Regions from separate parts of the Homo sapiens genome. Here regions 2, 3 and 4 are each linked to region 1. The links are contacts of gene promoters, found by promoter capture Hi-C in human tissues and cell types (Jung and others, 2019). All regions are on one chromosome and are shown on one strand. Each heading gives the region's core, a stretch centred on a gene start or on the middle of the fragment in contact. The rest is flanking DNA. Distances are from core to core; before and after follow the strand shown.

Evidence for each region. Contacts are between HindIII fragments. The study calls those that stand out against the background at their distance.
Region 2: a contact is called between a fragment that was not itself captured here and the fragment with the promoter of RIPPLY2 in region 1, in 2 of the 25 tissues and cell types used here (H1 embryonic stem cells and mesendoderm cells).
Region 3: a contact is called between a fragment that was not itself captured here and the fragment with the promoter of RIPPLY2 in region 1, in 2 of the 25 tissues and cell types used here (liver and spleen).
Region 4: a fragment that was not itself captured here is called in contact with the fragment with the promoter of RIPPLY2 in region 1 in 1 of the 25 tissues and cell types used here (hippocampus).

What each region holds. Positions count from the first base shown.
Region 1 is chr6:83,851,508-83,855,052 of GRCh38, reverse strand. It overlaps RIPPLY2 (ripply transcriptional repressor 2), which reads right to left and starts at 1,693. Exons shown (of 4, transcript NM_001009994.3): 1 at 1,542-1,693; 2 at 1,280-1,358; 3 at 892-956. The coding sequence starts at 1,636. It overlaps RIPPLY2-CYB5R4 (RIPPLY2-CYB5R4 readthrough), which reads right to left and starts at 1,693. Exons shown (of 18, transcript NR_174604.1): 1 at 1,542-1,693; 2 at 1,280-1,358; 3 at 892-956. The HindIII fragment of the contact is 6,654 bases long and covers 1-3,545 here.
Region 2 is chr6:83,634,661-83,638,430 of GRCh38, reverse strand. All of the region lies in intron 8 of SNAP91 (synaptosome associated protein 91), which reads left to right. Among named protein-coding and RNA genes, the nearest start is that of SNAP91, 73 kb to the left of the region's middle. The HindIII fragment of the contact is 4,674 bases long and covers 1-3,770 here.
Region 3 is chr6:83,999,343-84,002,704 of GRCh38, reverse strand. No RefSeq gene overlaps it. Among named protein-coding and RNA genes, the nearest start is that of LINC02857, 20 kb to the left of the region's middle. The HindIII fragment of the contact is 7,057 bases long and covers 1-3,362 here.
Region 4 is chr6:83,598,274-83,602,155 of GRCh38, reverse strand. It overlaps SNAP91 (synaptosome associated protein 91), which reads left to right. Exons shown (of 30, transcript NM_001242792.2): 15 at 557-571; 16 at 718-885. Among named protein-coding and RNA genes, the nearest start is that of PRSS35, 88 kb to the right of the region's middle. The HindIII fragment of the contact is 6,416 bases long and covers 1-3,882 here.

The DNA of each region.
Region 1 (3,545 bases), core at 444-2,943:
TTCCAAGACTCAGCCAGGTAACCACAACTTATAATATACACTTCCCTGACCCTTCCCCCTACCACTGACAGATTTAGGCACTTCGTGCCCTGCCCATACTTGTAAAACTAACCAAACTAAATTCCATTACAACACTTGCCATGTGCTGTGACTACTTTTTCCTGTGTCCTTCACCAGTGCTAGCACACGGTAGGAAATTAGATGTAATGACTTCTATGTGTTATTTATGACCAGGGGCACTTTACAAACATCATCCAGCTCTTCATTTAACAGCTCTCGGAGGCAGGAAAACTGCAGAATTCTTAACATTTCACCTGAATAAAAGTGACACAGAATCTTAGATAAAGGCTGACTTCCTGTGACTAGGAACAGTAAACTAGCTCCGCAAGTTAAATAAACTTTTGACCCTTTCTATAACCATTCTCAATAATCTTTAGGATTTTCATTACATTTCTATTTTTTCCTACTCGGCAAACTTGTAAGACTGTAACTGTTAATCCCATTCTTCCTTCCAGATTGCAAGACAAAAGCAGCATACACACTCTGCCTGATGCGAAGTCAATTTCATTCGAACCCTTTAGGATTTAAAAATAAAAACTGTTTTGCCAGCACAAGATGTCACCGCTCTCTTACCATATCATCCCCTTTCCCTCTTCGTAATATATTCATCAAGTTCACTGAGTATGTATTCATCAACAGTCCCTTTACGTGGGACCGTGAGCCCCTACCTTTTTCAATTTGATGAGTGAGAAGATAAGTAACCTTGAAGCCAGATTTTCAGAGAGAGAGAGAGAGACTGCAGGACCAGCTGCGGAGCTGGGCTGCGCGATGCCCCTGGCTCCTCCCTGGGGCTGGAGGAGCGGGAGACCTTCGGCGAGGCCTGTCACTCACCTGACTGGGTGCCTGAATTGGTAAAGCTTTCCTGAGGCTGCGGTCATTCCAGGGCCATCGGGCATCTGGAGAGGAAAGGAAGTGAATCCAGTTATCACCCACCTCCTTCTAGAAAGTGGAAACGTGCACGACCCAGTGTTCCTCGTGCCCGCTGGGAATGTAACCCCAGGGCTCTCAGCAGCCTCGCTCCCGGCTGGGTGCCTGTGGCCCATCGCTCCAGAGGACACATCCGCCGCGTCGGCACCTTTATGGCCACCGGCAGGCGGGATGTTAAGCGAGAGGCAGGACCCGGTGTCTCGCATGTCTCTCTCAGGCCCTGCGTCCCGAGAGCCCTGGTCGATCTTCTGCACCCGTGGGAGGCGCGGCCTGAGACGCGTGGCTCACTCACCGCCTCCGCGGCGTGGTTCGGCGTCTCCTCTTCTTTCTTGCCTCCGGCGTCCACCCAGGGTCTCCAGAAGCCTGCGTATCTGCGGGATAGGGGAGCACAAGGCGCGCAGAGGAGACGTGAGCCCAGACCCGGGAGAATCCACCGAAGCCGAGCGCTGGCACCGGGCAGTGGGGGATGGAGAGTTGGAGGGGAGGAGCTGGGGAGGCGCAGGAGGGAGAGACGGGGGAAGCTGGGAGGCGCAGAGCAGCGCGGGGAAGCCTACCCGGAGTCCGCGCCCGCGCGCCGCGTAGGGCCGTCGGTGGCCGCGCACGCCGCAGCTCCACTCTCTGTACCCTCTGCGCCTCCCGCGTTCTCCATGACGCCGCAGAGCTGGGCGGAAGGCCGCTGCCAGCTCGCGGGCAATCTTGACCAGTTCCAGTAGGTCCGAGACCCGAGCTTTATATAGCCCTCGCGGCCTGCTGCACATTGAGAGGTTCGCTGCCTCTCCGCCCCTCTCCCTGCTAGCCGCATAAACAAAAAGGCTGCGCGTGAAGGCGCACCGGGCTGAGCCCCGGGTGTGAACGCGTGCAACTCCCAAATGGCCCGGGACAGGGTTTTGTCGAGCGAATGTTAATCGCCCTTCGACACATGGCTGCGGAGAAAAACAACATTCGCCCGAGCAGCCAATTTCCGTGTGAAGAGGCCAGGAGGAGATGGAATTAAGCGAGTCTACACGTTTTGTGGATTTCTGCAAAAAGGCCAAGTGACTGGTTAATTGCTTGATTCGCTGGAGACTCAGGACTTGGCCTGTGGCAAATCAACTGGTTCTGCATCCCGTGTTCTAAAAGCTGGGATGCAGACTAGAATTCAAAGGAATAAACTTAATTCCTCTTCATGGAACAATTTTCTAAAAAATGGGGAGAATGCATGGACTCCTTAAGAGAGGAATGTCGGTTTTTTAAAAAAGTATTGATAAACTAGGTTCATACTCCAGCCTATTATTATTTGAAGATAATAGAAAATTATTGGCAACAAGAGGTAAATTGTAAAAGATTCGCTGTTCTGGCTAAGAGAGCCAGAGACTGGAGTCATGTGATTTGGGCATAGAGCTCTAAATTATCTTCTCGTGTCTTTTGTGATTTTCCCCAACATTTTATCAGTGTCCTCCTACAATAACTTTTGAGTTCGTCTATACACCTCTGTCACTACTTGGTATTTTGTCACTCAATGGTAATTACAAAATTCTTTTTTGAGGGCAGTGTTGTGGAATGATAATGAAATCTTGAAAAGTTATGATATGAGACAAGTTAATCAAACGTCTGCACCCCTGTTTCTCTGATTTGAGTTACCCCTCACTTATCTACCACTAAACTTTGTAAAAAGTGTTATGCATCGAGGAAAAGATGATATATAAATGTTATAATTTTTTTCAAAATGTTTTAAATAATAAAACTGGACTTTCTCTTAAAAGTTTAGACAAAAATCTTGATTGTAAACTATAGTTGTCTCTGCTATTCATTCAGCTACTGCATAGGAAAATAATTTAATTATTAATAGTAGCTAAGAGCCTATAATGATCTACCTGCCAGGAAGGTGAGATTTGGGTTGCTTCTGATAAGAAAATCAGTAAGGATAGATACCTAATGCATGTCTGCATCCCCTACAGTTATTGTTAGGCTAAATAAAATAAAGCTTATAAAATGCGTTTTGCAGTGCCTGGCATATAGTAAGCCTTCAACAGATTTTAAGCTACGTAAAAAAATATAAGGCCTTAACAGATGTTAACCTTTCTGATAAAATGGCTTATTATTTCAGTTCCATAATGTAAACTAGTTAAATCATTGTGGAAGATGGTGTGGTGATTCCTCAAAGACCTAGAACCAGAAGTACCATTTGACCTAGCAATCCCATTACTAGGGATATATGCAAAGGAATATCAATCGTTATTTTACAAAGATGGCATGCATAATGTTTGTATGCGTATGTTCATTGCAGCACTATTTGCGATAGCAAAGATATGGATTCAACTCAAATGCCCATCAGTAATAGACTGGATAAAGAAAATGTGGTACATACACAACACGAAATACTATGCAGCCATAAAAAGGAACAAGATCATGTCCTTTCCAAGGACGTGGATGGAGCTGGAAGCCGTTATCCTCAGCAAACTAACGCAGGAACATAAAACCAAACACTGCATGTTCTCACTTATAAGTGGGAGCTGAATAATGAGAACATCTGGACACAGGGAGGGGAAAAACACACACTGGGCATGTCAGTGGGTGGG
Region 2 (3,770 bases), core at 825-3,324, 220 kb after region 1:
TCAGTGGCTAAACTGTTCCTAAAGCCAAAGTTCAGTCATTAGAAGGATAATTCCAGAGAGGGAAGGAAGACAGCCAACTAGACAAAGCTAGCAAATGCCTCTCCCACCAAGAGGAACCAAAATATCGAGTGAATCATCATGCTGATGATCAACAGATCTTTTGAGAGAAAATACTGAAAATCAATAGAGAGGCAACACAGTTGCCTTCAACATAGTTGAAGAGGGAGGAAGCCGGGAAACCTGCTCGGAGCCACCACATGCCAGCTGCAGTAAAACATGACCATAGGTGCCCATCCCCCAAGGCGCTCCATCTTGCTCTGCAGTTCCTGTTCTCTACTGGCCAGGACCATTGCTGCAGGACCAGGATGAATGCCCCCTCACCTGCTGGCCCCTCCCAAGATTTCCTGCCTGGCCACTCCCACAGGAGGATATCCACAGCGCAGCCCCCGCGCTTCCCTACCTGAGTGTTTTGCTGGTGGCCTGGAAGCAGTCTGGCACCCCCAGCACAGCCAGTGCTTAACCCCGAGGGGCCAGAAGACAAATCTGCAGGCCTGGTTTCAACTCCCTGGGACTCAAGCACACTGCCCACGAGTATCGTGCTGAGATCTATGGCCTGAGCTCAAGTGGAGGAAGAGCTCCCAGTGTCAGAACAAAAAGAAGATTGTGACTTAGGTTCTTATGCTGGTGCAGGTTCTTGTACAAATGTAGGAGCTGGGTGTCCCTCCCTTCACAAGACCCATCTGAGAAGGGTGCCGCCTGAAAGCCACATCTTCTTTCCCAGGGAGCCCTGCAGCCCACATCATCTGGAACAGCTCAGTGATCTGAGAGCAGAAGGCTTGGAACAAGTCTAGCCAGTCAAAATGCTCCTGGGGCAGACACTGGAGGAAGACCTGTTGGGTCAGAGGAGCACAAGCTGAGTGGGCCCCACAGCTGTCTGCCAGGCTGGAAACCCTGGGCCACAGGCACTTTTCCACTTGCGTATACATGATACCATTGCCCTGCCCAGGGATTCTTCACCCCAACCCACTGCAACACCAGACCGCTAGTAGTCATATCCCACAACCTGCTCTGACTCTCACAAGCACAGTGGGCCCCCCAAGAGTTAGAGATCTCCTGATGATCTCTCAGCTGGGACCATCCCTAAAGGGAGAGGGTAGCACAGCCTGCCAAAGCCCCCTTTTGAGCAAAGAAAACATGGGTGCAGCACCAGTACTTGAAGGGGACAGCACCAAGGCCCAAGGCCTGGAAACAAACTTGGACTGAGACTTATCTCTTGGCCCCTGCCTCCCCTCCCCAGAGCACTGCCACATACGCACTGAAAAATAAGAGGTGTCTGGCTGAGTAAGAGTATATCTGCTGGCCCTGATGTCACTGTGAAGAGCTGTCTACGAGACTGCAACCTGAATGGCACCACCAAACAAAAATACATTGTTTCACCGTGCAACACCTCTGAAATGCACCACAGGAGCCCATCTATAACCTCAGAACCTAGAACAGAGCCTTGACCCTCTGAAAGCGCTCAGAAACGAAACCGATCAACTATATACAACATTCACCACAGTCAACCCTTACGGGAAAAAAGAATGTAAAAACAAAAAGCCCTATCCAAATGAAAGCAAATTGACAAAGAAAAAGAAAAGCCAGCTCCCTCAGACGAGAAGGAATCAGCTCAAGAACTTAGGCAATGCAAAAAGTCAGAATGTTTTGTTTACCTCTAAAGGATGGCATTAGCTCCCTAGCAATGAATCCTAACCACATTGAAATGTCTGAAATTATAGACACAGAATTCAGAATCTGGATGGCAAGGAAGCTCAATAAGATCCAAGAGAAATTTGAAATCCAATACAAGGAAGCCAGGAAAATGATCCAAGATATGAAAGATGAGATAGCTATATTTAAAAAGAACTAAACTGAACTTCTACAATTGAAAAGTTCACTACAGGAATTTGAAAATGTAGTTGGAAGCCTTAATGACAGACTAGATCACACAGAGGAGAGAATTTCAGAGCTTGAAGACGAGTCCTTTGAATCAACCCAGACAGACAAAAATAAAGAAAAAAGGAATTTTACAAAATGAACAAAACCTCCAAGAAATATGGTGTTAAGTAAAGCAACCAAACCTACAATTCATTGGCATTTCTGAGAGAGAAGAGAGAGTGAGCAACTTGGAGAACATATTTGAGGATATAATCCACAAAAATTTACCCAGTCTTGCTGGAGAGATTGACATGTGAATACAAGAAATTCAGAGAACCCCTACAAGATACTATACAAGATGACCATCCCAAGGCACAGAGTCATCAAGCTTTCCAAGATCAACACAAGAAAAAATCTTAATGGCAGCTAGAGAAAAGGAACAAATCACCTATAAAAGGAACCTCATCAGGCTAACGACAGACTTCTCAAAAGAAACTTTACAAGCTAGAGATTTGTAGCCTATTTTTAGTATTCTTAAAGAGAAGAATTTCCAACTAAGAATTTCATAACCTACCAAACTAAGCTTCATAAGTGAAAGTGAAATAAAATCTTTCCCAGACAAGCAATTGCTAAGGGAATGTGTTACCAATCAACTGGCCTTAAAAGACGTGCTTAAGGGAGTTCTAAACTTGGAAACAAAAGAAACCTGCTACCACAGAAACACATATAAGTACATAGTCCATAATTCCTACAAAGCAACTTCACAGCTGAGACTATAAAGCAACCAACTAACAATATGATGACAGGAATGAAACCTCACATATGAATACTAACCTTGATGTAAATGGTACAAACACCTGACTGAAAAGACACAGAGTGGCAAGTTGGATTAAAAAAAAAGATGTACTGTCTTCAGTACATCCATCTCATGTAATGACACGCATAGCCTCAAAGTAAAGGGATGAAAAAAGATCCACCATCCCAATAGAAAACAAAAAAGGACAGAGGTTGTTGCTCTTGTATCAGATAAAATAAACTGAAAACCAACAACAGTAAAAAAAGAAAAAGTACAAAGAAGGACATTACATAATGATAAATGGTTCAATTCAACAAGAAGACTTAATTTTCAGCCAGAGATGAGAGATTAGGGGGGAAAAAGACTTAACTATCCTAAATATATACACACCCAACATTGGAGCACCTAGATTTATAAGAGAAGTACTTCTTGACCTAATAAAAGACAGACAGCCACACAACAATAATGAGGGAGTTCATCACCCCACTGAAAGCATTAGACAGATCATTGAGGCAGAAAACTAACAAAGAAATTATGAACTTAAATTTGACACTAGACCAATTGGACCTAATAGACATCTACAGACTACTCCACCCAACAACCGCAGAATGTATGTTCTTGTCACCTCTACAGGGTACATACTCTAAGATCCACCACATGCTCAGCCATAAAGCAAATCTCAATAAATCAAAAAAATCAAATCATAACAAGTATATTCTTAGACCACAGTAGAATAAAAATAGAAATCAATACCAAGAGGAACTCTGAAAACCACACAATTACATGGAAACTGAACAACTTGTTCCTGAATGACTATTGGGTAAACAACAAAATTAAGGCAGAAATCAAAACATTCTTTGAAACAAATGAAAACAGACACAACATACCAAAATATCTGGGAGGCAGCAAAGGCAGTTTTAAGAGGAAAGTTTATAGCACTAAACACCTACATCAAGAAGTTAGAAAGATCTCAAATTAATAACCTAACATCACACATAAAGGAACTAGAAAAACAAGAACAAACTAATCCCAAAGCTAGCAGAAGAAAACAAATAGC
Region 3 (3,362 bases), core at 612-3,111, 150 kb before region 1:
CTCCCTCACAACTTTTCAAATTCAGAAACTGCTTGACCTATCTTTGTGACCAGCCTCTCTGTTGGCATCATACTCTCTCATTTTCCCTCACTGTCTTATTTTAATGTGGAGATCCAAAAATATTTTTCTTTTCTCAATGTTTAAAAAGAGAGCATTCCTTGTAGGACAAAACCTGCCCATATTGAGGAAATGAATGGTGAAATAAGCTGCTGTGGGGCAAAAGCTCGGTCTGAAGGGCCTGAAATTAGGTGGAACTGATGCTACAGTAGGGGAGGGGAAGAATTTGTCTGTTACAACAGCAAATGGGGAAGGAAGAGGGAGACAGAAAGATGGGAACTCCAAACCTTTAGTGAAGTGAGCAGAGTCACAAAATGTCTAGTTAAAGTGGGTTTTATTTTTTTTCTTTAGTGTATTTCGTAGGTTTTGAGTGTGTGAATGTGTGGCAACTAGTAAAAGTACTGTGCTTATCACCTGGATTGATATGGGCAAGACTTGGGTAGCCAGTTTTCACTGTTAGGCAGACAAAGGAGTTAAGAAAAACACATGAAGAAGTCAGATATTCTCAAAATCTTAGAAGGGCTCTGGATTCTCATTTGCCACATGTTCAAGTATTTGATGTATGTTTACATAAATCCCCGAGGAATAGAAGACCCCTGCTGATGCCTAGCTTCCCTTTTACTGAATTTATGTAATTTTATAGGCTGCTTTTAATCCTTTCTGGAGTGAGATCATAAAAGTAAATAAATAAAGAATTTTAAAATAATGTGGAAAAGGGCGCTGCTTATAAGTTGTGATTATAACCTTATCAAAACTATTCATTGGGAAAAAATAACAGGAAATATGTCAAAATGATCAACTATGTTTGGTAGTGGGATTATGAGTAATTTTTTTTTCAAACATTCTGTAATATGATTAAATTACTTTAGTTTTAAATTTTAAAAAGGTAACTATGAAGGCTATTTATCAACATGAGGAGTTGATCATGATAGAACGTTAAGATTAAAAATTATAACAAAAGTAGTACTTCAGTATGTCTGCAATAATGTAAAATAAAAATGCATGTAGACAGGAGGTGGAAGGGATCTTAAAAGTTGTCACAGTTTGATTTTTTTCTAGGAGGCAGATTCTAAGACAGAGTTGGATTCAGGATGTTTATCAGGAAATACCCTTAGGATCAAGACCTGTAGAAAGAAGAAAGAGGAATCAGGAATGGGCAGAGGGGGGAGTCTAGATGAACTGGCCCATTTAGAGTTGTCCCACATTGGGCCAGAATACCTGGTCTGTATACCCCCAATCAGTGATTGGATGTTGGCCACCGAGGGAGAAGGCGAGCCTGGGAGAGTCAGTTCTCTCCCCCGAGGGGCTGCCAGCTGAAAGGTGTCTCATAACAACACTCTTAGGAGCTAAGGCAACAGGTCCTTCCCTGAAGGTAGATCTGAGTCACACATGTCCATATTCAGGACAAAATTAAAACATTTTGTATAGAATGGTAGGCTAAAATGTCAATTTTTTTTTGTAAAAATCATTTTTAATATTGCTACATCATCTTTTAATAGCTATAAAATGAGGATTTTCAGCTGAGGCAGGTGAATTGCTTGGATCCGGGAGGTGGAGGTTGCAGTGAACTGAGATCATGCTTCTGCACTCCAGCCTGGCAAGAGAGCAAGACTCCGTCTCAAAAAAAAAAAAGAAGATTTTCATAGTATTACTCTCATAGCACTGTTGTGAAGATTAAAAAGATAATAATTGTAAAGCACAATGCTTGACACAAAGTGTACAATATTATTACTGTTCATTGTTTTAACATTTGCCAAGTTATACTACCCTGAGGAGTTAGTGCTCTTCTTATAACTAGTCAGTGCCAAATCACTTTTTTTTTTTTGCACCTGCCCCTTATATTTCTGCTTCCTGGCATTGAAAATGATGTAAGGATGTGATGCGGGAATTGTGCTATCTTGTGAACATACAATGACAACCAAGGGGACAATAGGCCAACACTGAGAATGGTGAAGCAAAGGAATAAAGATCTATGATTGGCATCTTGGAGGTACCAAACAACCATGATGCCATCTATACCACTCTAGACTGCTCATTAAATAAATAATAAATATCCTTATGACTTAAGCTACTTTTAGTTGGGCTTTGTTACTTAAAGCTAAAAACATTCCTAACTAATATGTAGGGAAACAGAAATAGACGAAAGATTGGGAGGAAAAAATGCATAAAATTTATAAGCTGGCATGAGCTCTGTAAATTAGTAGAATTGTGTGATATGGGAACATAATAAATGTCACTTAATGATAAGGTTACTTCTGACTGTGTCTGTTTCAAGTTTATCCATGATTTAATTTTCTGAATACCTCCCTTCCCATGATACAAAACAAATTAATCCCCACTTTGCCTCTAAGCCATATAGAGAGGGTGTGTGGGAAAGAGAAAGGATGCTAATGAGATTTTCTGTTTATTGGTATACACCAGTGTGGCCATTAACAACAACAACAACAACAGCAACAAACCCTTCATTTAGTAAAATGCAGCTGCTAGAACTTTTGTAAAAAGACCTGCATCCTGAAAATTCCCAGTTGTACCTACAGTAAGTAGTTCCTAAATGTGAGCCATTTATCCTCTTTATTATTCAGCAGCTATGGTGCCTGTGGAGTTGGAAAGACACTTTAATTTCCATTTCTTAGGAAAGCTGTATGGACATAACACACCTGATGACTGGTATAGCTCACAGGGGGAAGACATTTAGGAACCACGGGCAAAAGCCACTTTCCAGAATATTCCCAATAAATGTGAAGTGGAGAAAAGAGTAGACTTTAGTGCGTCCCAGATTTTTATTCTTCACCCTCACCGTCTAAGTGATGCTGCTTATCCAAGGTAAATTTCAAATTTTTATATTATCCACCTCATATATTTAAAAAGCTACAGAAATAATTTCCTGAATTATTTTTGAAGAGTTTCAAGAACTGTCAAGTTTTGAACTGGAACACTATGAAAAATGAGACTGAGTGTCTGAGTTGGCTTTTAAGAATAAGGTGAATCTGTTCCAAAAGAGATGGATAAAATGATCTACACCCAGGTCTATTGATCACGGGCACTAATACACATAGGGAAGATGGCAATTATTTAGCAAGATATTTCCCCAGATTGGTGGCACATTTTTTATTTACTTATACCCTAAATCCTGTTCTGTTATGGCTCTTAACTTTAAATGGATGACTGCAAGTGTGTCCCAGTGAGATGATTTCTCAGTTCATGGTTGAATTCCACAGGACTAACAGAAAAGCTCCCTGCCATTCTCTGCTGGAGTTGTGCTTCTCTTCCAGATCGCAACACTTTCCAGTTCTGACACACTGGTA
Region 4 (3,882 bases), core at 118-2,617, 250 kb after region 1:
TCATCTTTGGCTCCCTAATAGAGTGTTTTTTATTTTCTTCATAGTAAATTCATGTTGCAGAAGCACAAATAAGTGTGTGTTGTGTGTCTGTATATTTTAGACATGGGAAAACAGTTTCTTTTTATACATGCTTAAAGTGAAATTTCTACTTTTTTTGAGAAACATGGGATTACTGCCAGAATTTATTAGAATTAAAATTATCTACCAACATGTATTTGAAAGCTAATCAATATTATGTGATCATATGACTCTGATATCTTCATGTATAAGGTTAGCTACAGCACAAGTAGTTTTGTGACCCATTTGCTTGTTAATAAAATCTGAAGTACATGTCTAAAGGTGAAACTTGGTCTAGAGGATCTCTAGGTCCCTTCTAGCTTAAAAGTTCCATGATAATAGGTAGTACATTTATTTTTTAATTGCAAATGGTGTAGAAGACACATAAAGCTAAGGTTTTTTTAGTTAGTGCCTTATCTGGCTTGGACATTGGTATGGTTGCATGTTTCAACTTTAGCTCTTATTTATTCTTATGCTGCCATGTAATGGACATCGGTAGACCTTTTGGGAGAGGGTGAGTAAAGCTTTGTTTTTAAACTTCCATTTTGACAGACTTCTGTATGTAACAACTGTCCTTATTTTGATCATTTGGAGTCTGGTATATCTTTTGTCCTTTGCTTTTCTTCTCTCCGTTTGCTCTCTGTCTCTGGTGAAATATAGATTCTTTGGCTGCACTTTCCTCTGTTCCCTCTGAAGCACAGATTTCAGATCCATTTGCACCAGAACCTACCCCTCCTACTACAACTGCTGAAATTGCAACTGCCTCAGCTTCTGCCTCCACTACTACAACTGTTACTGCTGTCACTGCTGAAGTGGATCTCTTTGGAGGTTAGTTAGTCTCGCTGCTACTTTCATTTTTTCAGGATTGCTAAAATTACTTGGGAGTTAAGGTCTTTAAAATTTTTTCCGTTATGTAACAGCATGTCAGAGTGTTTAAGTACTTTTTCAATGTTTATTCATGTATATTTATCTTCACTAAATTCATCAACTTTCTCTTCACTTAATTTTAGTAATTTTATAGCAGAGATTGCAATGCATCAGGCCCATTTGATTTTCACGTTTTTTAACATTAGAATTCATGTTGCTACCTTCAGAACTCCTGCCTTTAGGTTCCTGCTCTCCAGTGTCTGTATAAAAGTGGTACCAGAGCTCTCTGTCACCTTTAGGTTTATTTAGCTTTTCGGCCAGATTAGAACTAGCCCAGAGAATATTTGGGGAATGTAGGAGGAGCAACACAGGCCTAAGTTGTTTCTTAATGTTTAGGGCAAAAAATAATCTAAGAGTAATTCAGGTTTGGAAGCCTTTGAAGAGAGTTAAGGGATGTGCCTGTTTTTACAGCTTTAAGTTTGTTCTGTCCAAATAAAAACTTGGATCATCTTTGGTTTTGGAACTCTGAGAAAACATCTGAAGCAGCACTTGAAAGGCTGATTGAAAACAGATTTAAGTCAGTCTTTGAAATGATTGTCTAAAAATATGCTTTCCATGGAAATGTAAATTCTGACCCACTATAATATGCCTGGACCTGATGAGCCATGTGAAGCCAGTTTATTCATATATGTATCCCCATCTGTGTGGTACCAATGTCCACACCTAAAGAAGTTCTCATATCAAACACATACGTCAAGTGATGTTATAGTCATTATAGTTTTGTGTATCTTCATTACCATATAACATCTTTCCTAGGGCATTTTGAGAATATGGTAAAGAAATTGGAGGAAGAAAATGGTGAAAGCAAGAGAGATTTGGCAGGCTTTGGTGTAATCAATATGTACCCCTGGGAACATACATTTAACACACTGTCACCTACCACTCTGCTACATGCCATGCTCCAGTCTCTAAGGTTGGCCAACATCATCCAAGACAAGGAGCACTCCACTAGACACAGCTTTGTTGCCACTGCTGCACAAAAGACATTTTCTGCTGCCTTGCTGTCCATTCCTATGGAACAGGAGAAACCTGTTTGTAAAAGAGTAGGAGAAAAAGGATTGCAGACCCTTGAATAAAGAGTCACCCATGGTCTGGCGCAGTGGCTCACATCTGTAATACTAGTACTTTGGGAGGCCAAGATGGAGAATTGCTTGAGCTCAGGAGTTTGAGACCAGCCTGGGCAATATAGTGAGACCTTGTCTCTGCAAAATAATTAAAAGCTAGCCAGTTGTGGTGGCAAGCACCTGTAGTCCAAGCTACTTGGGAGGCTGAGGCAGGAGGATTGCTTGAGCCCAGGAAGTGGAGGTTACAGTGAGCCTGATCACGCCACTGCACTTTAGCCTAGGTGAAGAGCAAGGCCCTGTCTCAAAAATAAAATTAAATTAAAAAGAGCCACCCACTATAGAGGGTTAGGTTTTCATTTATGCCCCTATATCCTTTGAAACCAAAAATTTAAATTTTAGCTTACATTTATAAAATCAACTTCCTCTTCCTTCCACAAATCTAAATCAGGTGGTAAATAGAGTTTGTCAAAGTTGTTTAGGCCTGACTAAAGGTAAGCCTCTTGACCTCCTTTGGCCTCAGTTCTCCCATCTATACAATTGGAAACTTGGTCTAGAAGATCTCTAAAGTCCTTCTAGCTTGAAAGTTCCATAATAATAATAGGTAATACACTTAGTAAATGTTTTAATTTAAAATCTATCCTTCCCCCACCCTCTGTTATTGATGTAGCTATGGGTAGTTTCTCATAGGCTTGTGTTAACAGAAAAAAAGTAAGGAAAATATGGACAGGATGCATAATAATTTTGTGCTGAAACATTTCTACGCCTTAGCTGTTTAGATTTTTTGTTTCCAGTCCACTTATAAGGAGTTGATTACCTCAAAGAAATCAATCAACTCTATCTTACTTCCTGCATAGCCCTCTAGAATAATAAAGACTAAGATATTTCTTTGAAATATTCTTCATGCCATTATGCTGTTTTTGTTTGTCATTTATTTCTGTTTTGACTATATTCATCAAGTGGAAAAATCTGTATGTTTAGAAAATTTTCATGATGGCATTCTTTGTAGCTTTAAATATAAGCTTAAAGGATGAGTACTGCAGAGAATCATGCAACTTAATGTCAAAGAATGAGACTGTTCTTGTGATTTTATCAATATCCTTTCCAGTCATCTGGCTGAGAAATGAGTGTACAATGACAATTACATCTGAAAATCACATCATAATTATTTTATTGATCTGTTTAGTTCTATAAATTGTCTCCTGGCTTCTGATAGCTATACAATTTCCATCCTTTATGTTCAGGAGTCTATATATGTCATTATCTGTTTTGTGATTTTCAGTGATTTTCTGTAATTTCTTTCATGCCTTCATTGGTTTTTAAGAAATTATTCAGAGATTTAATTTTTAATAAAAACCTAAGCTAAAATCTCTTTGGCCATTTTGTGTGGCCATTTTTTAAATATTTTGTCTCTCTACAATGGGTAAGTGGTAGAACTCTAGAATAATCAGAAAACCAGTTATGTTTTGTTTAACACAGCATAACTTTACAACTTTAAAACATGCCTTTTTGAGGTCCTATGCAATATGTACAGCAACTAAGTAGATTTCTTTAGAAATAAAGCTTAATGGATTTTAATTTCAGAAGGATGGCTATTTAATTTCATCCCTATCAAATATTAAAACTGTTAATGTATTTTAGTACTATATTTAAATTACACATTTTAAAAATAGTAAATTTTTGTGATTTTTAACAGAAATATTCTTATTGATACACAAGTAATGTTTTAGTCCTTTCAATGTAGGTAGTTCATGTAAGTCATTAAAAAATTTTTGTCAGCTACATTTATTAAATGCTTCATTTTTTAAAGTGAACTTTTAAGAAATGAGATCTTCTT